4 separate regions of the Homo sapiens genome follow, and all the other regions are linked to region 1. Evidence: promoter capture Hi-C in 16 types of primary human blood cells and fetal thymus (Javierre and others, 2016). All regions are on one chromosome and are shown on one strand. The core of a region is centred on a gene start or on the middle of the fragment in contact, and the rest is flanking DNA. Distances in the headings are between cores, read along the strand shown. Region 1 holds the start of FXN (frataxin). Region 2 overlaps PGM5 (phosphoglucomutase 5). Region 3 overlaps PGM5 (phosphoglucomutase 5). Region 4 overlaps PGM5 (phosphoglucomutase 5).

Region 1 (5,900 bases), core at 2,753-5,252:
CTCTACATTGTTTCTCTACTTTGGCTAGTTTGGATTTCCTCAAAACATGATGGCTGGTCCTCAGTGTCAGCATCCCAAAAAGAGAATGCCGGACACAGTGGCTCACACCTGTAACCTCAGCAATTTGGGAGGCTGAGGTGGGAGGTTGCTTGAGTTCAGGAGTTCAAGACCAGCCTGGGCAACATAGTGAGACTCTGTCTCTACCAAAAATTTTTAAAATTTTAAAAATCAGCCAGGTGTGGTTATGCACACCTATAGTCCCAGTTACTTAGGAGGCTGAGGCAGGAGGATCACTTGATTCCAGGAGGTCAAGGCTGCTGTGAGCTATGACCACACCACTGCATTTCAGCCTGGGTAACAGAATGAGACTCTGTTTCAAACAAACAAAAACCCAAAAAAAAAAAAAAGAGAGAGAGAGGGAGTTAGAAGGAAGATGCATCATTTTTATGACCTGGACTTGGAAGTCACCAAGCAGCACTTCTGCAGTACCCTGTTGGTTGGAATAGTTGTAGCCCAAACCCGAATTCGAAGGGAGGAGAATAGATAACATCCCTGGGTGACAGGAATGTCAAAGTCCCAAACAGCATATGACATGTGACAAATATTGGTGTGGCCTTCTTTGGAAGATCCAATCTTCCATACCAGGCAAAGGGATGGAAGACTAAGGAACAACATGAGGGATAGCCAGAGAGGGAAAAAGCATCACTTGTTCTAGGAACTACAAATAGCTTGAAGAAGCAAAGATGTCTAGATGCCTCCCAATATGCAGAGTGGGGTGTACAGAAGAGAGTGGTAAGGGCGCTGGGAGAGCTAAGGTGGGCAAGAGAGCTTCCTCTGTCATGCTAAGAAAGTTGGAATTTATCTTGATGGTGGTGAAAGCAGAGGGCTATGGTTAGATTCACATTTGAGATTTAGATTTTTAGATTTAAAATGATCACCCTGGTGACACTGGCTTAACTCACAATTTTGCCCAAGGCCTATGCTACCACAGTGCTTCTGAAACTTTAAAGCACATTAGAATCACCTGGAGGTCTTGTTAAACCATGGATTGCTGGGCCTTGAAACCCCAGAGATTCTGATTCAGTAGATCGAGAATAGGGCCTGAGAATTTGTATTTCTAACAAGTTTCCAGGTGATGCTGAGGCTGCTGGCCCAGCGACCACATTTGATAATCATAGCCCTCTGATAAATCCTATCAAAATATCCTAATGGCAGAGCAAGGGAATTCTGGTGATATCCTCCCCTACCCATAACCTGACAGCTATTAGGATCTGCCTACTTGAGGCTAAAAGCAACCAAGAGAGGAACAGCTACAGTGTACCACAGAGTCCCTCAACATCTTTGCCCACGCCACGGTGCCCCAGCTTCTTACCAAGTGTGCCTGATTCCTCTTGACTACCTCCAAGGAAGTGGAGAAAGACAAGTTCTTGCGAAGCCTTCGTCTTCTCTGATATGCTATTCTATGTCTATTTCTTTGGCCAAAAAGATGGGGCAATGATATCAACTTTGCAGGGAGCTGGAGCATTTGCTAGTGACCTTTCTATGCCAGAACTTGCTAAGCATGCTAGCTAATAATGATGTAGCACAGGGTGCGGTGGCTCACGCCTGTAATCTCAGCACTTTGGGCGGCCGAGGCGGGCGGATCACCTGAGGTCAGGAGTTCGAGACCAGCCTGGCCAACATGATGAAACCCCATCTCTACTAAAAATACAAAAATTAGCCAGGCGTGGTGGTGGGCACCTGCAATCCCAGCTACTCTGGAGGCTGAGACAGAATCTCTTGAACCCAGGAGGTGGAGATTGCAGTGAGCAGAGATGGCACCACTGCATTCCAGCCTGGGCAACAAAGCAAGACTCTGTCTCAAATAATAATAATAATAATAACTAATGATGCAGCTTTCTCTCTCTGAGTATATAATGCAGTTCTGATGATGTGAGGAAGGGCCTCACTGTTGGTGTGGCAGAGTCTGAGACCATGGCTGGCAATGAAAACACTACCCTTTGATGCCTATGGGCTCTCCCTTTATGGTTTCAAGGAGGGCTTCTCAATCTTGGCAGAATTTTGGACTGGATAGTTCTTTGTTGCACAGGTGGGGGGCTGTCCTGCACATCACAGGATGTTTCATCCCTGGCCTCTACCTACTAGATGCCAGTAGAACATACCCACCCCACAGCTGCCTGTTGTGACAATCAAAAGCATCTCCAGATACTTTGCAGGGGGAAAATGATTTCTCCAGGCCTGGCATATACATAACAGTATTTAAGCAGCTGCCTAGAATTAATTAAACACAGAAGGATGTCTCTCATCCAGAATGCCCTGGACCACCTCTTTGATAGGCAATCAGATCCCACCTCCTCCACCCTATTTTTGAAGGCCCTGTGCCAACACCACTTCTTCCATGAATACTTCCTTGATTCCCCCATCCCTAGCTCTATATAAATCTCCCACTCAACACTCACACCTGTTAGTTTACATTCCTCTTGACACTTGTCATTTAGCATCCTAAGTATGTAAACATGTCTCTCTTCACGATTCACAAAGTGGCTTTGGAAGAACTTTAGTACCTTCCCATCTTCTCTGCCATGGAAAGTGTACACAACTGACATTTTCTTTTTTTTTAAGACAGTATCTTGCTATGATGGCCGGGCTGGAATGCTGTGGCTATTCACAGGCACAATCATAGCTCACTGCAGCCTTGAGCTCCCAGGCTCAAGTGATCCTCCCGCCTCAGCCTCCTGAGTAGCTGAGATCACAGGCATGCACTACCACACTCGGCTCACATTTGACATCCTCTAAAGCATATATAAAATGTGAAGAAAACTTTCACAATTTGCATCCCTTTGTAATATGTAACAGAAATAAAATTCTCTTTTAAAATCTATCAACAATAGGCAAGGCACGGTGGCTCACGCCTGTCGTCTCAGCACTTTGTGAGGCCCAGGCGGGCAGATCGTTTGAGCCTAGAAGTTCAAGACCACCCTGGGCAACATAGCGAAACCCCCTTTCTACAAAAAATACAAAAACTAGCTGGGTGTGGTGGTGCACACCTGTAGTCCCAGCTACTTGGAAGGCTGAAATGGGAAGACTGCTTGAGCCCGGGAGGGAGAAGTTGCAGTAAGCCAGGACCACACCACTGCACTCCAGCCTGGGCAACAGAGTGAGACTCTGTCTCAAACAAACAAATAAATGAGGCGGGTGGATCACGAGGTCAGTAGATCGAGACCATCCTGGCTAACACGGTGAAACCCGTCTCTACTAAAAAAAAAAAAAAATACAAAAAATTAGCCAGGCATGGTGGCGGGCGCCTGTAGTCCCAGTTACTCGGGAGGCTGAGGCAGGAGAATGGCGTGAAACCGGGAGGCAGAGCTTGCAGTGAGCCGAGATCGCACCACTGCCCTCCAGCCTGGGCGACAGAGCGAGACTCCGTCTCAATCAATCAATCAATCAATAAAATCTATTAACAATATTTATTGTGCACTTAACAGGAACATGCCCTGTCCAAAAAAAACTTTACAGGGCTTAACTCATTTTATCCTTACCACAATCCTATGAAGTAGGAACTTTTATAAAACGCATTTTATAAACAAGGCACAGAGAGGTTAATTAACTTGCCCTCTGGTCACACAGCTAGGAAGTGGGCAGAGTACAGATTTACACAAGGCATCCGTCTCCTGGCCCCACATACCCAACTGCTGTAAACCCATACCGGCGGCCAAGCAGCCTCAATTTGTGCATGCACCCACTTCCCAGCAAGACAGCAGCTCCCAAGTTCCTCCTGTTTAGAATTTTAGAAGCGGCGGGCCACCAGGCTGCAGTCTCCCTTGGGTCAGGGGTCCTGGTTGCACTCCGTGCTTTGCACAAAGCAGGCTCTCCATTTTTGTTAAATGCACGAATAGTGCTAAGCTGGGAAGTTCTTCCTGAGGTCTAACCTCTAGCTGCTCCCCCACAGAAGAGTGCCTGCGGCCAGTGGCCACCAGGGGTCGCCGCAGCACCCAGCGCTGGAGGGCGGAGCGGGCGGCAGACCCGGAGCAGCATGTGGACTCTCGGGCGCCGCGCAGTAGCCGGCCTCCTGGCGTCACCCAGCCCAGCCCAGGCCCAGACCCTCACCCGGGTCCCGCGGCCGGCAGAGTTGGCCCCACTCTGCGGCCGCCGTGGCCTGCGCACCGACATCGATGCGACCTGCACGCCCCGCCGCGCAGTAAGTATCCGCGCCGGGAACAGCCGCGGGCCGCACGCCGCGGGCCGCACGCCGCACGCCTGCGCAGGGAGGCGCCGCGCACGCCGGGGTCGCTCCGGGTACGCGCGCTGGACTAGCTCACCCCGCTCCTTCTCAGGGCGGCCCGGCGGAAGCGGCCTTGCAACTCCCTTCTCTGGTTCTCCCGGTTGCATTTACACTGGCTTCTGCTTTCCGAAGGAAAAGGGGACATTTTGTCCTGCGGTGCGACTGCGGGTCAAGGCACGGGCGAAGGCAGGGCAGGCTGGTGGAGGGGACCGGTTCCGAGGGGTGTGCGGCTGTCTCCATGCTTGTCACTTCTCTGCGATAACTTGTTTCAGTAATATTAATAGATGGTATCTGCTAGTATATACATACACATAATGTGTGTGTCTGTGTGTATCTGTATATAGCGTGTGTGTTGTGTGTGTGTGTTTGCGCGCACGGGCGCGCGCACACCTAATATTTTCAAGGCTGGATTTTTTTGAACGAAATGCTTTCCTGGAACGAGGTGAAACTTTCAGAGCTGCAGAATAGCTAGAGCAGCAGGGGCCCTGGCTTTTGGAAACTGACCCGACCTTTATTCCAGATTCTGCCCCACTCCGCAGAGCTGTGTGACCTTGGGGGATTCCCCTAACCTCTCTGAGACGTGGCTTTGTTTTCTGTAGGGAGAAGATAAAGGTGACGCCCATTTTGCGGACCTGGTGTGAGGATTAAATGGGAATAACATAGATAAAGTCTTCAGAACTTCAAATTAGTTCCCCTTTCTTCCTTTGGGGGGTACAAAGAAATATCTGACCCAGTTACGCCACGGCTTGAAAGGAGGAAACCCAAAGAATGGCTGTGGGGATGAGGAAGATTCCTCAAGGGGAGGACATGGTATTTAATGAGGGTCTTGAAGATGCCAAGGAAGTGGTAGAGGGTGTTTCACGAGGAGGGAACCGTCTGGGCAAAGGCCAGGAAGGCGGAAGGGGATCCCTTCAGAGTGGCTGGTACGCCGCATGTATTAGGGGAGATGAAAGAGGCAGGCCACGTCCAAGCCATATTTGTGTTGCTCTCCGGAGTTTGTACTTTAGGCTTGAACTTCCCACACGTGTTATTTGGCCCACATTGTGTTTGAAGAAACTTTGGGATTGGTTGCCAGTGCTTAAAAGTTAGGACTTAGAAAATGGATTTCCTGGCAGGACGCGGTGGCTCATGCCCATAATCTCAGCACTTTGGGAGGCCTAGGAAGGTGGATCACCTGAGGTCCGGAGTTCAAGACTAACCTGGCCAACATGGTGAAACCCAGTATCTACTAAAAAATACAAAAAAAAAAAAAAAAGAAGAAGAAGAAGAAGAAAATAAAGAAAAGTTAGCCGGGCGTGGTGTCGCGCGCCTGTAATCCCAGCTACTCCAGAGGCTGCGGCAGGAGAATCGCTTGAGCCCGGGAGGCAGAGGTTGCATTAAGCCAAGATCGCCCAATGCACTCCGGCCTGGGCGACAGAGCAAGACTCCGTCTCAAAAAATAATAATAATAAATAAAAATAAAAAATAAAATGGATTTCCCAGCATCTCTGGAAAAATAGGCAAGTGTGGCCATGATGGTCCTTAGATCTCCTCTAGGAAAGCAGACATTTATTACTTGGCTTCTGTGCACTATCTGAGCTGCCACGTATTGGGCTTCCACCCCTGCCTGTGTGGACAG
Region 2 (6,443 bases), core at 2,446-4,945, 520 kb before region 1:
AGCAAGGGAAGGGGATTCTCTACAGAAGGCCGATTTCCCCCACAAAAGATGGCTTTGTAGAGCCATTCCAAATTACGTCAAAGAAATATATTTTGGGGTAAGATGCTTTGATTTCCTTCAGTGCCTGTTATCTGTCATCTGATGCTATATCAGGGTCAGGTTGGAATTTGGTATCTTACTGCTACAAAGAGTCTGTTCTGTCAGTCCTAGAATCTCTAAATGTCAACAGCTAAGCTCCAGAGAGGAGGATATATTGAGGCATATGCTACGCCCTTTTCCTGTTATGGCCTGAACTAGTTTTCGGGATCCTTTTGGCCAATGATTAGGGGCAGGGAGGAGATGTCCATTCAGTCAGTTTGGGGCTTAGAATTATATTTTTGGTTTATACCTGACATGTGAATAAATGTTCAATAAATGTTGATTGTCACTAATGTTATTGTTTTTGCCTTTTTTTTTTTTTTTTTTTTTTTTTAGATGGAGTCTCACTCTGTCACCAGGCTGGAGTGCAGTGGTGCAATCTCAGCTCACTGCAACCTCCACCTCCCAGGTTCAAGCAATTCTCCTGCCTCAGCTTCCTGAGCAGCTGGGACTACAGGCATGCGTCACCATGCCTGGCTAATTTTTGTATTTTTAGTAGAGAAGGGGTTTCACCACCATTATTTTTATTAATAATGGTATTGACTCATTTTCTTATCACATGAGGATAAAAGATTCCCAGATTACTTAGCAATTTGTTTTATAATGCAATTGACTTGTCCTTTTCCCTCCCATTAACATCTCAGAGACCAAACTGGATCTATGAGAAATGTCCCAAGAGAACTGACAGCTTCTAAAAACCTAGGTCTTCTCTGAGAGCTCCCAGGGCTCTCATGACATGGCATTTTAGATGTACCATGCTTTGTCAGAAGGTTCAAGGATGAAGTGGAGTTTCTCTACTTGTCTCTCCATTCATGGAACAAATTCACTGCCCTCCTGGCTTGGAGTAAGAGGTAGTGAGTAGGGGTTGTTCAATGATTTCATTTCATCCAAATAATGTGCAATCTGTTGGTTGTTCCAAGCTCTTTTACCAGAGAGAAAGGGCTTGAACACTGGAGTGGGTGTGTGATGAAAGGCAGGTTCATTGAAGAAAGGATGCCTGAAGTTTCTTTGACTAGCCAGGAGGCATGTGCTCTCTGGCTTCAAGGGATTAAACAGAAAAACTGGTCCCTTGGAGCAGGAGTCAAGTTTTTTCTGAATAGGCCCAGAGAGTAAATAGTTTAGGCTTTGCTAGCTGTATTAGTTTGCTAGGGCTGATATAACAAAGTACCACAAACTGGGTGGCTTACAAAGCAAGAACTTGTTTCTTATTCTGGAGGTTAGAAGTCTGAGATGAGTGTGTTGACAGAGCTGGTTCCCTCTGAGGGCTGTGAGGGAAGGATCTGTTGATCTGTTCCATGCCTCTCTTTTTGGCTCATAGATGGCTGTCTTTTCCCTGTATCTCTTCATTATCATCTTCCTTCTTGTGTGTCTCTGGGTCCAAATTTCCCCTTTTAATAAGGACACCAGTCATATTGGATTAGACCTCACCCTAATGATCTCATTTTAACATGAGTACCTCTGTAAAGGCCCCGTCTTAAAATAATGTCACATTCTGAGGTATTGGCAATTAGGACCTCAACGTATGCACTTATGGAAGACAAATTCAACCCATAATATTAGTCGTATGGTCTGTGTTACAACTTCTCAACTGCCACTGTTGCACAAAAGCCGCCACAGGTAATACATAAATGAATTAGTGAAGCTATATTCCAATAAAACTATAGGCACTGTAATTGACTTAAGATAATTTTAACATGTCACAAAATCTTATTTTTTTCCCAACCATTAAACATAAAAACCATTTTTATGGCTGCACCAAAACCAGGTGGTGGCCAGGGTTTGGCCTAAGGCCTATAATTTGTTGATCCTTGCCTTATAGGTTTCTGAATATGACACGTTATTTACAATTTCTGATTACATTCAGTACAGCATGTATCAACATGAGTTTGGGTAAACCATACACACTATAAATTTCAAAATTACATTTGTATTTGTGTATATTTGTATACATAGATGAATTGTGAAGTTTTAGGGAAAAAAATATCAAATCTCTCTGGAAATCTCCAGCATGAGGCTTCTGAGGTTGAACTCCATAGCTTTTGATTGCAACCAAACATGAAAGGGAAATGATTATGTTTGTATTCATGAAATCAAATTCCTTTTTCAGGTCTTTTGTTTCTTGTCAGAAGGGTTCTTCATTTTTCTTTTTAAAGCAATTGCTTACACATGATTTTCAGAAGAGCAGCACTATGTCAGAAGAAAAGGGAAAAACGTTAAGAAATAAATGGGATGAAAAAAGAAAAGTATGAATATGAGCCCTGGTGAATTCTTACAAAGAAAGGGAAGCAAACACGTGACATTCAGTAGTGACCCCAAGCCAGGGAGTGCTGTGACATTGCATGTCCCTGTGAATGGGGCTTCCGGGAGCTGATAACAAGGTTCTAGTGCATTTCAGTCACATTAACAGTGATCCTCAAACCCAGTCTCCAAGGAACCTCACCCCATTTCCCTAGGAAGTAGCAATTCTGTTGTTTTTATTCTTTCTTTCTTTGCTTTTAATTATATTCTTGGGAATTACAGTCAGGACAGTCAGTGTGGTGTTTAACAAAAGCTAAGATACTTTGATGATATACTGAGATTTCCCAGTTATACATTTTAGACTGTCTTTGACCATGTAAGTGTTTCTATATTGTTGAATCAAGCCGCTGGCTCTGACTCATATCAGCCCATGTTTTTCAGAATTTGCAGTCATTATGAATTCACTTTCCTTTTAATGGATAAGATTTGATAAAAAGCTTAAAAGAAAGTACTTTTACACTGTTTTTAACAGCGCTTTATACTTTTGCTACACTAAAGGTAGTTCTTGGACTAGCAGCATCAACATCACCTGGTTGCTACTTAGAAATGCAGAATCTCGGGCCCCAACCCAGATCTACTGACTCAGATTCTGTATTTTAACAAGCTCCTCAGGTGATTCATGTGCACATTAAAGTTTGAGAAGTCCTAATGCTGGGCGTGGTGGCATTAGCCTATAAAGTGCCATCTACTCAGGAGGCTGAGGTGGGGAGGATCCCTTGTGCTTAGGAGTTGAAGACCAGCATGGGCAACTTAAGGAGGCCCTATCTCTAAAAAAAGAAAACTGATGCTGGCTGTACTGGCTTAAACCTCCAATCCCAGCACTTTGGGAGGCTGAGACGGGTGAATCACCTGAGGTCAGGAGTTCGAGACCAGCCTGGCCAACATGGTGAAACCCCTTCTCTACTAAAAATATAAAAATTGGCTGGGCATGGTGGCAGGTGCCTGTAATCCCAGCTACTCAGGAGGCTGAGGCAGGAGAATCGCTTGAACCTGGGAGGCGGTGGAGGTTGTGGTGAACCAAGATTGCACCACTGCACTCCAGCTTGTGTGACAGAGTGAGACTCCATCTCAAAAAAACAAGCAAACAAACAACAACAACAACAAAACTGGAGGGAAAAAAGGGCAAGAAGTCCTGTGATGGATGACCTTTGGGATCCTTATTTCCACCTCTGCTTAGCAGGACTGACATTGTCTCCACACCAGACAAACCCTCTAATGCCAAACTAAATAGGATGCATTTATAGGGGTGCCTGGCCTCTATTTCTTCCTCATTTAGGAAAATCATAAAGCATGCAGAAAATAACCCAGACAAATGTGCCAAGATCCTTGAAGACTTGTTCCTGCTTCTCAGGTCAATTAACAAAAAAAGAAACAAGAAAATCAGTTTCAAGTTGCATCTCCATAGAAACCCTTTCTCAATATCAACTCAGCAGTGTTAGACAGTTTTCTTCACACAATTATACTAGTTGAGCTGAGAGATTCAAAATAACAGTGGATGAGGTAAAGAAAGTTCTAATTTGATTTTGCCAAGGCACAAAGCCTTGCTAAAATTGTGGGTAGACAGTCTAGCACACTTCAATTACTAGGAAAAGGTCAATTATTTAAAACACTTTAAATATGTTAGGTTAAATGGCAGCTGAGTCTAAAGGCAAAGGCCATAAAAGAACATGTTCCTTTGTCCAAACTGCATTCATAAAGTGTGCATTAACCATCCATTAATTTCACTAATAGTCTTTCTATTGTGGGGAAGAGTCTCTCCTCGTTTACAGGGCTCATTTCCATGTTTTTAGTGCCTGGTGTTAATGACTGTCCCACTACTGCCTCCTCCGTAAGACTCAGGTGGCCCTCACGGCAGAAGTTCTCTTCTAGTTTGCTTCTGCTACTCAACTCTGCCACTCAGCTTTGCTCAATGTGGAAGTCCTTGCTAACTTCTTTAGAATCTGATACACCCTTAAGGAATGTGTTCCAAAAGCTATGATGTCTGTTCCTTCTGTTGTCAACATCACCTTACGCAACTGCAATCTGATTGTACTCTCTCTGGCTGGATATATAGGGCCTGTTGCACACAAACAGAAATGCAGGCAAGCTTTCCCCCACTGGGTGTGTCACTGACCCTCTTGCTGACACAGAGAGATGTTGCCTCTGATTTGAGTGGCTTTCTCACTCCAAGAGCTGGGAACACCCCAACATTCTTAATCTCTTTTTATTTTATCTTTTATCAAAAAGATAACATGAACTTTATTTTATGGGCAAATAAACTTAAGCTAGAAGGGTTGTTGACTATCTACCAAAGGTCAGCTTATTGGGACTGGTATGCTGGTCCACTCACCTGTAGCCTACTTTTCTATTAATAGCAAGTCAGGCTTCTGTCTTCAATGATGATGATAATGGTAATAATAATAATAACAATAGTATCAAGTGCTTGCCCCGTATGGGGGCTAGGCAGAATGCTATGTGTTTTGTGTGTGTTATATCTCATTCTCACCACAATCCAATGCTATAGGTAGTCATGCTATCCATCCATGTTTTACAAATAAGAAAACTTTGGCCCTGAGAATTTGAACAATCTACTGTTTCTAAACAGTGTCCCTGGTATTTGAACCTAGATTTGGGCCTCAGAGCCCAAGACCTTAACTAAGGTCCTTATTATGTGCCATCAAAAAATATGGGGGTGCTCACCCACCTATAAAAAGTAAATTGGAGTAGACCAGCATTCCCATCTTCAATCTGGCATAGTTAACACACCTCAATCCATCCTCTAGGAATGTTCTAGAGGCAGTCCTCAAGCCCCACAATTCCAGACTAGTAGAAGGTGTGGTCTCTCTTTCAGTCCTCCTATTCCCTTTTATGTCCTCAGATCCTTTCCCAAGGGCTAGCCCTTTCTTAGAAGGCTGTACCCTCTGGAAGCTGGAGAATGCCACTGTGCTGCTTGTAACTGGTTACCTCAAGTAGGCTGTGGGGTGGCAGTTAGGCGAAGTACAGAGAGACTGTGAACTCTTCTCCCGGAGAAGCAGCATCACCACCTGGGGTGAACCTCACCATGGGTGGGCCTGAGAGGAGGTAGTGGGGTGGGCCTCCACCATCTGGCCACTGAGGTCCCTGCCTGGGCCTTGGCAGTCCCTCAACATGGGAGGGGGAAGAGCACACACTCTCAGGACTCCACTCAGCCAGGAGTTCTCCTTGCCAAAGTGGGCCTGGGGTCTCAGCCTCTTTGCTTTGTGACGTCCACCACACAGCTGCTTTGCCAGCTCTAGTGTGCTCCTAGGAGGGCTGGGTTGAGTGGAGACAGTTCCTGGATTTCATGTTTATATAGTTCTGTTTTTTTGTTTTGTTTTGTTTTTTGTTTTTTGTTTTGAGACAGAGTTTCGCTCTTGTTGCCCAGGCTGGAGTGCAATGGCGCGGTCTCGGCTCACTGCAACCTCCGCCTCCTGGGTTCAAACAATTCTCCTGCCTCAGCTTCCTGAGAAGCCGGGACTACAGGCATGCACCACCACGCCCGGCTAATTTTTTGTCTTTTTTTTTTTTTTTAAATAGAGACGGGGTTTCTCCATATTGGTCAGACTGGCCTCAAATTCCCGACTTCAGGTGATCTGCCCGCCTCGGCCTACCAAAATGCTGGGATTACAGGCCTGAGCCACTGCGCCTAGCCTAGTTCTGTGTTGTAGTCATGAGCAGTTGAGTCCATGCTGAGAGTTTGCATCTCAGGGCATAGGCATAATAGGGGACGGGGAGGACTGCAGTACCTTTACTCCCCAAATGGTTGCTGGGCTCTTACGCAAATCTGCCAGCCCTCCGCAGTAGTCTTCAAGGCCCTCATAATACAAAAATCTCTATTTCAGAAAAAGAGAAAATTTAAATTAGAATGCCCCAGATTCCTGGATATGTAACTATCCAGGTAAAATTTATACTTATTAATATTAAAATTATTTCACTGCCTCTAGTGTACTATTGCTTGTTCAGTGGTAGCAAATTCAGTCACCCACCAACACAGGCAGTAAGTCCTAGAT
Region 3 (6,225 bases), core at 977-3,476, 620 kb before region 1:
CTTATAAAAAGTAGGTAATGAGAAAATTAAGGCTTGCAGACAAATCTTACACAATTGCAGCAGAATATCTCAGAAATGTGCTCAATTCTCGGGCTTTCTGTTTGGTCTCTTTAAGCAGGCAACCTCAAAGAGGTGATTCTAGCTTTTGTGATTATGTGTGATTTTGTTATTTTACAGCCTACTGCTGTGGAACTCTATTGAGAAAAGACACTGATAAAGCTAATAAAATATACATCTGCTACAAAGAAAATTTTATCTCAAAAATGCTATTTCCTCTTCAGCTCTGAATGTTGACAGATTTTTTTTCCTAACGGGGTTCAGTAGGTTGGCTGGAAAGCCAAGATCAAATACCAACGGGAGGTGTGAAGACTGGCCAGCCTATGTTCAACGAGTTCACCATCCAGCTGCTAAGTTCTCCATGCTGATAAGACAAACACTCTCTGAATCGGATACGGGCCTACTGGTATCTTTAGGACCATCTGCAGCACAGCTAGGTAAAGTAGGCACAATTTTTAAGTTAGGTTTTGCAGAAGGTCCCATGAAACAGGGTTTCCTTGTCAAAATACAGTGAGACATAATAACAGAGCCATGTTTGGAGGTCCCTTCATTGACAATGGGTTATGCCTTCAGCTTTCAGGCTGATCCTGCTGAGAAGCATATGTGATTAGCCCCAAGAAGCTCTTTACTGCCCCCTAGATCCCTGTCAAATCTAGGAGATCTTGAGCTGTACTTCCCCTGGGCCCGGGGGACGTGTGAAATGCTTGTGTTGTATCTTCATTAGTGGAAATTTTTGATCAATTATCCTGGATGATCCATGTCATGGAACATTGAGCTGCGTATCCTTTCATTTCCATCATTCAGGGTGATATTCAAAATATAGGATAGGCATTTTTAACCCCAAAGTATATTGAGAAGTAAAATTAATGTTGGAGATTAGTACATTACACACCTCATCAAGCAGGAAGAGACAAGAAAGCATATAAATGCGACACAATTCTGGGGCAACTCCTGTCTTCAAAACTTATTTGCTTCAGCTATAGCCGCTGAGGCCTTACTCCTTTTCCTGCCTGTCTTGAAAGATTGTTCTATGCGGCCACCCAGATTTCTTGGGATCTGATGCTAGACCTTGGAGGAAGTCAGGTAAAGCTTTCTAGCTCTGCCTCAGTTGGACCATGTCTCTCCCCTGTCTCTGGTTTCTTGGGCTACTTTGATTTCACTTTCTGTGTTATGGAAACCTCTGGCAGTAACTGTTCCCTGTGTGCCTTACACTTCAATTGAGATGCACAATTGCCAAAGCTCTCTCTGATACCACCAGGGAGCAGCGAACTTAATTCTTCTGTCTTTGATCTCTCTCTTGTTTTGCTGTTTCTCCCCTGACAAGAGGCTGAGCTGCTTTGGGGGCCACCAAGGGCCATTCTCTCCACTTTGTCCTTCACTATATCACATCCCCATATGTCTTCCTATAGTCACCTGCTGGCGTGATTCCATTTTGTTTGTTGAATTTGACTAAAGGTGTCTTGAGCTTAGGAGTCATATCAGCCTGCCCACAAAAGTGTCCCATTTCACTGGGCAAATCAACTAGAATGTTGTTGTATTTACTCTGTGGACTTAGGAAGGGATCCTCTGGGAATTAGCCCCATGGGGTTTCTGTCACCTCCCATTCTACTTTGGCTTAGACAAGGTATCTGAGTTCAGAACCTGACTCTGTTCCTGCGCTCAGCTTTACAGACAAGTGGTATTATTTTTAGCCTGCAGACCTTTTAGTTAACACCCTGCTGCATTGAGGGTGTGAGAGAGAAGTGCTTTGGAAATCAGACTCTGTTACTGATAGCTTGTCCTAAACTGAAAAGGCGACAGGAGAAAGGATGCTTTGTGTTCAAGCAGAAGAAATCTCCGATGCTGCAGCTGCTGCTGCAGCCTTCCCCTGTGTTTCTCACCTTGCTGCGGCCTGCTGTTTGGCAGGACGACTTGACTGGCTGCGCTGTGGTTTCTGCGCCTGTGATGGCTCCTTCTGAATGCCCTCTGAGCCCTGGGGGTCTTATCAGCTGGCTGCGGCGGGGGTGGGAGATGAACAGCTCCCTTGTCAAGCCCGCTTTCTCCTTCTCCTGGGAACCCCTGCCGGGTCACCAGCCTAAACCCCCTCTAGCACCCCATGGCCTCTTGCTTGGGGTGTCAGAGTCAGAGAGAGTAAGGAGGTGTTGGGAGATGAAGTTCAGAGGGTAAAATGATACCGCAGGAGGAACCAGGCTTATGCGAGCTTTATAGTCGGCTGAAAAAGAGAATGTGGTAAAGATCAGGTGGCCCGTTTCAAAATGGCTGGAACTTTTACTTAATACTTTACAAGGTGCGCCCCTGCCCCAAAGTATAGGTGGAAATAAACCTCTGCTTTAAAATCTCAACAGAAAAATCAGATCAAAGAAATCTGGTGAAATACCTTTGATTAAATGTAACACACAATTGATCTCAATTCCATAGCTGATTATTAATTTTTAATTAGGAGTAAGATACAGGCACCATGATGTGTAGATTTTGTTGTCTAAGAAAGAAGATGAATAGAAGATAATATGTTTTAACTTTTTTTTTCCACCAAGTTTTAAAGTTCTAAGACTGCTGGCAATTTTCAATGAATATATGGGGTCTCCATCACTGGCCATTTTATGGGCAAAACAGCAAAACACAAATAGGTTTAATGCTGAGCTCCCAGCCCTTATCTTTGCTTCTCCCCCTCCATTTCCACCAGTCAGGTGTCTAGAAAAGAAGGGCATCCTGGTTGGGAGGAATTGGTTGTGGGGAGGATTTGGCCATGATCAGAGTAGGTACTGCTTCAGACCGAGCTGGGGCATTTTAAAACTGAGGCAGAAGAAGCCATACTTTAGGGGTCCGGGGAAAGAAAGTAGGACTAGGATGGCTCCACAATTCCTCTGCTGATCCTCTCAGAGACTTAGCTTTGCTTAGAAGCATTCCCTGGTAACCAGCATCTATTGCTGTCTTTACTTAGCATTTAAATGCCCCCAGTCTGGCAATGTCAGTTATCTCAGAGCCAAGACAGAATAATTTTGTGGTAGAAATCAAAGAATTTTCAGTGTAACATCTAGGGCAGGATTTGTGCCTCTTTTGCAGTGGATGGCCTTTTCCCCTCTTGACAGAATTCTGTTAGAGCCTCACATTGTTGAGATATCCCCCTCATCTCCATTCTACAGAGTGTTAATGCTGCTGGAAGACTGTCTGTTAAAATCAGATTCCCATCAGGCTTTGAATGCTCCCTACCAAATGGCGTAGCTGCCTTTGATCTGTAGTCTCACTTAAGGAAGCTTTTCAAGTGCATGGAAAATGTCTTGACCCCAGTGTTTGGACCTGTCACTGCTTGCACACCAAATCAAGGTATCATCAAGCTGAAAACGTACACCTAGAGGAATTCCTGCTATTTAATGGGCTCAGCCATTCCTGCTGTATTGATGGCAGTCTCAGCTCAGCTCTCCCTCTGGGGGCTCCGAAGACCCTAGAGTTATGTTCCTCCCAGCAGCAAACCTCTGAGGCTTGGTGTGGCTCAAAGACAGAGTCAGAGCTGCTTTGTCATCTGTGATTCTGTGGGTTGGAGGAGTAGTCAGAAGTAGGTCACATCTGAAGAAAAATTCTCTGCTTGTGATCTTGAGTACAACTGAAGGAAACTGACCCCTTTGAATTCATGAAGTAGGATGCAAGGTTCATATTATCTATGAGGACTGTAAAAATGGCTCCACTGACCTTGAGCTTATTCGCTCACAATGCATGCCAGTTAGATATGGGTATTTAGCATGCTGTATTTTAGGAATATTACATCAAATGTGGAAATACGGAGGCACATGGTAAACTGTCACGTACTATACAAATGATCATTGTGATGACATTTTCTTAAAATGGGTTATATGAAGTATAAAGAATTGAGAGGCTGACTATTGCCAGCAATTAGTTTAGTATAGCCTTGTTTATTAATCTATGGCCAGATGTGGTACCTTAGAGCCTATAGATCTTACTGTGCACACCCATGACCTTCAGATGTTCGTCGGGAGACACAACATAGAGCCTGGTCTTGGTGCTTGAGGAATCTGGGATGTCATACCTGACTCTTTGATGCATTATTTGGATACCTTAATCTCTCCAAATTTCCTTGTTTATAAAATGAAGATGTAAATGCCTCAATTGCCTCATGTGGTGGTTATGAAAGCTAAAATAAAAATGCACAGATGGTTTTGAATGTGCTTTGGGTCAGTGAAGTGTTATAAAGTGTAAGGTGTTATGATGATCATAGATGTAACTTGGGATGTATGCTTTGTCCATGGATGGTTTCTTATCTGAAAGGAAAAGCTGATGAAAGCTAGGTCGACGAATAATGTGTGATGAGTATATGTGTGCATATGCACACGTGGACATGTAGGTGCACATGTCCATGTCAGGGTACATAGTGTTACAAAGGGGAGACGAGGTGTGTACTGATCATTTTCACATTTGCACTCTGCCCCGTTCACTGATCTTCCCCTAATCGGCCCTGTATCTCCAGGAGTTCCACTGCATAGGCCTCTGCCTAGGGCCTGCTTCTTCTCTCACCCCTGGTGGCTGGCTGGGTCCTGTTGGGTGGCTCCAGCCTCAGAGGCTACAGCAGTTTCCTGATGTTGTTTATCTATAGATGGTCTCTCTTCTGTTTGGTGTCTGAGCTCTTCCATCTTATGGGCAACGGATTCTCCATATTAAATTCCTTCTGTTTGAAATACTTAGAGCTGGCCAGGCATGGTGGCTCACGCTGGTAATCTCAGCATTTGGGGAGGCTGAGGGAGGCAGATCACCTGAGGTCAGGAGTTCAAGACCAGCCTGGCCAACATGGAGAAACCTGTCTTTACTAAAAATACAAAAATTAGTCAGGCATGGTGGTGCGTGCCTGTAATCCCAGCTATTCGGGAGGCTGAGGCAGGAGAATCACTTGAACCCGGGAGGCGGAGGTTGCAGTGAGCGGAGATCATACCACTGTACTCCAGCCTGGGTGACAGAGTGAGACTCCGTCTCAAAAACAAAGCAAAACAAAACAAAACAGAAATACTTAGAGCTGATTCTGCTTTCCTGACTGGCCCCTGACTGATTCCAGATGCTTACTTTGTAGATGGATACTAGATTAAGACATGCATAGTACAATTTGTAGAGAAGAAAGATAATGTAGAATCTAACTTTATACTGTTTATAAGAGATATGTCTAAAAAATGTGATTCAAAATGGTTTAAAATTAAAAATTAGGCAAATATATAAAAAATGAAGAGAAAAAAGCAAAAATCAAGGTAATAAAATGTTAAAGCAATGAAGATCACTTTTATTTATTTTAAATAACTATCATAAATATTTATGTATTGAATGACAGCATCAGAATATATAAATAAATAATTTTTAAATGTAAAAAAAAAAATTTAGAAGCTATATATTAAGAGACCTTACTGTAATTTTCCTAACTTTTGATAGACCAAGTAGCCAAGTAGGAGGAACAATCTCAACAATAAAATAATAATTTATTGACCTGAAAAAACATTTAGTAGCATTGATTGGCTCAAAACTATCTATATGGGGGGTTTGCCTGGGAACTCCATTTGCATAGCAAACACTCAGTTTTTATTCATGTTGAGTTATATTATTGGGAGGAGCTGAAGGAGATTACTGTTGGGGCTAATGTCCCCATCCCCTACCTCTTGGTAACAAAACTGACCCTCAAGAGTCACTCCTTGTGTGGTGGTTTTTTGTTTTGTTTTGTTTTTTGTTTTGTTTTGTTTTTTGTTTTTTTGAGAGGGGTTTCACTATGTTGCCCAGGATGGTCTCAAACTCCTAGGCTCAAGTGATCCTCCTGCCTCAGCCTCCCAAAATTCTGGAATTATAGGTGTGAGCCACCTAGCCGGGCCCGGTGTACTTTCTTCCCCATTCATCTAGAAAAGTAAGAAGGCATATTGTTGATGAGGTAATTAAAATAAATTAATTAGCACAACAATAAGAAAATAAGTAATGTGATAAAAGCAGTCTGCAAAGGCATAATTAAAAAAATTTTTTTCCCATAGGTTATTGGGAAACAGGTGGTGTTTGGTTACATGAGTAAGTTCTTTAGTGGTGATTTGTGAGATTTTGGTGCACCCATCACCTGAGCAGTACACAGTGCATGCTATTTGTAGTCTTCTGTCTCTCATCCCCTTCCCACCCTTTCCCCCGTGTCCCCAAAGT
Region 4 (5,648 bases), core at 962-3,461, 540 kb before region 1:
AAAGTGTGCCTGAATCCAAAATATCCCAGAACTGGGGTGGATATTGTGTGAACAGGGATCAGCAGTCATTGGCCAAAGAAATGGGGAAATAGAAGGTGCATGATTTTGTTCCATTGTTCCAGTTTTGAGAGTTGGAATTTGGATGAGGAATAGCTTTCAAGTCTTCGCCCTCCAGCAGCCCTCTCATCACCTAGCATGGCTTTTCTAGGTGAGTGCTTTAAAAGAGCGTGTAAGGAGTCACTTGACCTTGATTTCCCCAGATAGTTCTTTGCAATTGTTAGCCCCCAAGAAGGCTGGTTGGTTTTTAAAAGAGGCTGGGTGAGAACTGCTCCCAAGAGCAGGGCAGCTGAGTATGGCTGTGCAGTCAGCACACTGCACAATGGTACCCAGCCTAATGGGGAAGGAGAAGCTGAAGTCCAAGCCAGCCGAAGGAAGGATGGTTTTCTGCAATTTATCCATGCTGGGGGTAGAGGGGGGCACCTGTTTTTAACTCACACAAAAGCACCATATGGAGTAACTGCTGCCTTGCTCAACCACTTTTGGACTCATGCTCACAGCTAACTCTATGAATTATTAAACAAAGAAAAATGGGTAATTCTAGGTGGGTTTTTTTAGTGTGTGTGGAAAGATACGTCTGTTCAATCCAAATCTCCTGCTTTCTAGGCTGCATGCCCACTTCTACAAAATATGGTTCAGATGTTACGAAGCAGTATCTTCACCTTGACGCTTTCCAGATAAATCGTTGTGATTTCCTGTGGGAGATAAGATCTGAGTTAGGCTCGCAGAGTCTCTCTCTTCCAAGGCTGTCCTGTCTCCAGGTTCACATGCCTGCTGTGGCCAACTGACTATATATGCGACACTGTACCAGATTGCAGGGCCATATGCTGTTTTCCCCTGGAATTCATCCCAAGTCAGTATTTGACTAGGTCCAATGCTGCCAAATAACTGTTGGTAATGTACAGTTCACCCTTCCCTGCCTGGCTACAACATGTCCTACAGTCTCCAAACTAATATCTGGCAGCTCTGTGTGTATTTAGCAACTTACAGATTTCCCTGTATTGATTTACACAAGGGTTTATTTTTAAAATTAAAAAAATAGTAAAAACCCTAACATTTATTTATCAAACATTTATCAGATACCTACTCTACATAAGGCTCTGTGTCAGCTTTGGGAAAAATACAAAACATAAGATATTGTTCAGATATTTCGCATGAGAAGCAATGTGTGAATATCAGTAGTTGCATATGGTTCAACCTCAGATTGTAAGCCTAGAGTCAGAAGACCTAAATGGAAGTAAATGAAGCTCCTCCATTTACTAAATACGTTACCTTGAGCAAGTGTTTTAACTTCTTTCTTTTCAATAAAAAGAGAGATTGGCAAGAATGACTCTAAGATCCTTCTTTCAGGATGTTAAGATCTGACACTCACAACAACCCAATAAGCTAGGCTGTATTATTTTTCAACTGCTTTTTAGGAAACTAAGGCTTAGAGAGCTTAAGTGACTCAAGACCACCAGCTAAAAAAGTGGCCAAGCCAGCATTCTAGCCTGAGTTTATCCAGTTGCTATTCTTGTATCATTTCCAAACTGACTCTTCATAAACAGCAAATCAAAGAGGGGGCAAATCCAGGGAGAAAAAGAGATGCTACAGTGATAACTGGAAGCACACTGAAGGATTTTTGTGTGGAGATAGCTGCATATGGACAAGGGTTATGAAATCCTTTATCAATCATTCTTCACTGGGACAAAGCTAAGGTGAGCAGAACTCGACTGTCATCATTAAAGCTCACAACCACAGGCACTGAAAAGTAAGGAAAACACTAAGCTGGAACTGAAGTGCTCTTTTGATACCCACACTCCTCCCCACCACATAATTAACATTGTCTTCTAATAAAGGAGAGCATATTTTTCCCTTTTTTGAGTGTGTGGCTATGTGTCATCCTGGATATTCCGGCTACTCTAGCTGCTGTGGCTAGTGAGATATCATGAATTCTTTCACAGTTGCTCCAGGAATTCCTACGAAGACTGTGCTAAAAAAAAAAAATAATAATGTCAGATGGTTCAAGAGGTGGTTCTGCTGCTGACAAGGCCCCAGGGGGAAGCTTTCAGGATTCAGTGGCATGAAGTTGTTTTATTAGCCTCACTGTGTTAACAGCCCTCCTACAGTCCCAGCCCAGTGAGAGCCTATGTATGAAACCTTAAATCCTAAAGGGACCTTCCTTATAAGGGACATGTAGCACAGTCCAGTCACTTGATAGATGAGGCAAGTGACCCAGAAAAAAGAGGTTATTGCAATTAGTTACTGCACATTAGAATCACCCAGAAAGCTTTTAAAATCCTAATTCCCAAGTAACACCCCAAAAGAATTAAATCACAATGTTTGGGGTGAAAGCCAGGCACCACCATTTTTTAAAGACCTCCCACTGATTTCAATATGTAGCATTTTGCAATTAATGAGCTAATGGTTTGCCTAAGGTCATACATCTGGGGACAAGAACCTACCATGGTTCAACTCCATTGTTTTTAGCCAAAACTGGCCCTTGTCTTAAGACATCTTGAGAAATGGTGGAGGAATAAACAGTCAAGCCCTGCCATGATGATGCTATGCCAGGCACTTTCTTAGTTTATCTTTTGCAACCACTCTTCAAGGTAGATACATCAGCTCTAGTTCACCATGAAGAACGTGCATGTGTTTTCATGTAGCCTGTGGATCCTTGCTAAATGCGAAGGCAGGCTCTCTGAGACTGCCTCAGGGGGACTGCAGTGGTGCTCACTTTAGTTGTCGAACGTGCAGTGACATTCATTCAACAAGTGTTTATGGAAGGTCTACAGTGTGCCAGGCATTGTCCTAGGCTATGTGGATAAAATGATGATGAATGAGGTATATAAGGCTCTGTCCTCCCAGAGCTTGTTAGCTAATGAAGAACCCAAAGTCATAACTCAGCAAGTCCAAAATTTTAAGGTTAACACTGCGGTGGAAACTTGTTTTATTCATTTTCACTGAGCCTTGTTTCTTCAAGACTTGTGGCGGCAAAAACACACATAATGAAGTTGTTAGAATATAAATAAGAAACATAAATCAAGACTAGGGAATATATAAGTAAGAGTAGAGTCAAGAACAGAAGAAGAAAAATTTATAGTCATGCAAGTCATGAGGATCCACTTGGGCTGAACCTCAAATTTGGCATTAAGTATCCTGGCAGCCATATCGAAAAGGGAAATGTGGTTAGTTACAAAGTTCTTATTGTCAGAAAGAAAAAGAATACAAGTTCCTTAGGGAAGGAAAGGCTTTCCTAATACTTGGCTCTTGAAGGAATGTCTCAGGCAGAGCTTCATACAGCCTCTAACAATATTTCTACTAGTGACTACAAAAGTGGATTTTATAAGACATAGCTTGTAGCATCCTGCAGTAAAAGTGAGAACATAAAACTAAAGTGCAATTTAATAAATTCATTTATGTTAGGAGTAGGTGGTGAGAGGTAAGTTGATTTGAGCCAAATACAGGTTCAGGTGAACCTATGACTAGAAGCTGGAACACCAGGGAATGGAGGGATTTTATATCCTTATAACAATCTACATAAACATAATTTCTCTCTACTGAGATTTTGATAATTCAAATGGTTATATTTTCTATCTTATGCTGTAGGGATAAAAGGCAAGTATTCTATGTTGTGAATAATGTAATGCCTTATACCAGGGGTCAGCAAACATTTTCTGTAAAGGGCTAGGTAGTAAATATTTTATACCTTGGGGGCTAGATGGTCTCTGCCACAACTATTCATCTCTGCCACTGCAGCACAAAAGCAGCCATAGACAAGATATAAATGAATGGACACGACTGTGCCCCAGTACAACTTGTTTCATAAAAGTAGGTGGCAGGTCAACTTCTTACCTACAGGCTACATAGTGCCAACCCCTAGTATAACCTAAAAAATAAATGCGATTATTGGTATTCTTTCATTGAAATTCAGGAACAATTGGAAACTTTGCAAGTCTTGGTCAGTGGTAACTTTGGCTTCATAGTTTAAATGCTATTGGGTGATGACACATGATGGAAAGAACATGGCTCGTGTCTGGGTTGCAAATTCATTAAGTTCGTTGAAAGAACATGCAGATCCCAAAGCAATCCAATACAGCTATTCACACATAAAAGGGGGCCTCAGCAGACATGGTGCTGGGATTGTTGCAGCACAGAACTAGGCTGGCTCTAAAGAAACCCTTACATTCCATGTGGAGAAGGAGAATTAATGATGTTCCTCACCTGGAATGGTCTTGAAAAGCAACATGGATTCTCAGTTAAGATCTCATGGTTAGTTTCCTAGGAAAGAGGGAAGATGCTGGACCATTTCCAGTAGGCTGATGCATGCTATTCACATCTTTGTCATCTTTCCAAGTGAGAAATCTATTCCAGGCTACCAGACATAGGTTCTAACAATCTTCTAGGCATGTAGCATGTAGTATAGTCAAAGACATTATAATTAACCTCAGGGGAAAACAATAACATTATTTCATTTTTAAAAGGCTTAGTTATGAGCAGATAACACATGTTTATAGTTTGTTATGACCTGAATTCTTAAATTTCCCCTCACTGGCCAAAAATGAATCTGAGAATGTTAATTGTTTAATGGGAGGTACTTCAAAGGGTTGAGTCTGGGGGCTCATCAGAAGAGGTAATCCCAAGTGACTTGGAATCTGCAACAGGTGGGTTAGGACCTCATCCTTAGATATTGCTTTAACCAATTTATGGGTAAGCCATAGTTCTGAGCAGAGTCACGTGCTCACGCGCCCCACGTGTAGTGACAACGGGAATGTAGGCTTAAACATAGGTAACAGCTTCAAAAGAGTTTGTAAAAACAAGGCTGTGAATATCAATATAATTGTGAGACTTTTGGGGATTTATTGTAGGTTTGAACGTAACTTGAAATACAGTGATTTGTAGACAGTCAGTAATTGCTTCACTTGCTCCATTTGGAATTTTGTAACTATTCACTTCTCCAGCAGCATAAGGTGGTTAAGAAGACAGTTTCTGTTCGTTGTAAAAAATTACTCCAGGCTTAAGGAGGACAACTATTGTGTCTTTATATTCATATACCCAGGATTTAGCACAGTGCCTAATCCATAAGGGCCACACTAAAATGTTTGCCCAGTGAATAAATCCTGGATAATATCATCCTGTCTGCAAAGCCAGTATTACAGAGTGATTGGTTGCCAGTAGGGGAGATAGCTCCCTTTGGTTACACAAATTGTGGCAGACATTGAACCACTCCAAAAGAAACTAAAGCTATTTATTTGGGGATTGAAACAAAAAAGCCTACACAACTTGAAAAAAGCATAAAGACACTCAGATGGAACCATAGTGTCTCCCAGCAGATATCACCAGATGGGGGTGGGGGTAAATAATTGCAGTCACATATGCAGCAGGTATATATATTTTTACTAATGGCTTATTCTTAAACAGGACTTGAGGCCAGAGAAATTTCAAGGATAAATTGCTTTGGGAGAATGCCTGATATCAATGTCTCCTGAGACATAGAAGTTTTCCAAAATAACAAATCACCAGATATATTATTTTGTTGCCTCCTCTTCCTTCCCCTGGCCCCTGCCAATATGCTTATTTACAAGAGTTACCTTATCAGTTGTCTTAGGAGA

The links. Contacts are between HindIII fragments. The CHiCAGO score rates a contact against its expected background, and 5 or more counts as called.
Region 2: a contact is called between a fragment that was not itself captured here and the fragment with the promoter of FXN in region 1, in 1 of 17 cell types (monocytes). The highest score is 7.1, in monocytes.
Region 3: a fragment that was not itself captured here is called in contact with the fragment with the promoter of FXN in region 1 in 1 of 17 cell types (naive B cells); the score reaches 5.4 in naive B cells.
Region 4: a fragment that was not itself captured here is called in contact with the fragment with the promoter of FXN in region 1 in 1 of 17 cell types (M0 macrophages); the score reaches 5.7 in M0 macrophages.

The regions. Positions count from the first base shown.
Region 1 is chr9:69,031,750-69,037,649 of GRCh38, forward strand. It overlaps FXN (frataxin), which reads left to right and starts at 4,003. Exons shown (of 5, transcript NM_000144.5): 1 at 4,003-4,198. The coding sequence starts at 4,034. RefSeq lists silencers at 3,892-4,361, 4,944-5,238 and an enhancer at 4,522-4,571. The HindIII fragment of the contact is 18,212 bases long and covers 1-5,900 here.
Region 2 is chr9:68,511,099-68,517,541 of GRCh38, forward strand. The region is part of intron 10 of PGM5 (phosphoglucomutase 5); the gene reads left to right. Among named protein-coding and RNA genes, the nearest start is that of TMEM252, 27 kb to the right of the region's middle. The HindIII fragment of the contact is 1,649 bases long and covers 2,872-4,520 here.
Region 3 is chr9:68,416,680-68,422,904 of GRCh38, forward strand. The region is part of intron 6 of PGM5 (phosphoglucomutase 5); the gene reads left to right. Among named protein-coding and RNA genes, the nearest start is that of PGM5-AS1, 62 kb to the left of the region's middle. The HindIII fragment of the contact is 2,165 bases long and covers 1,145-3,309 here.
Region 4 is chr9:68,492,192-68,497,839 of GRCh38, forward strand. All of the region lies in intron 9 of PGM5 (phosphoglucomutase 5), which reads left to right. Among named protein-coding and RNA genes, the nearest start is that of TMEM252, 46 kb to the right of the region's middle. The HindIII fragment of the contact is 225 bases long and covers 2,100-2,324 here.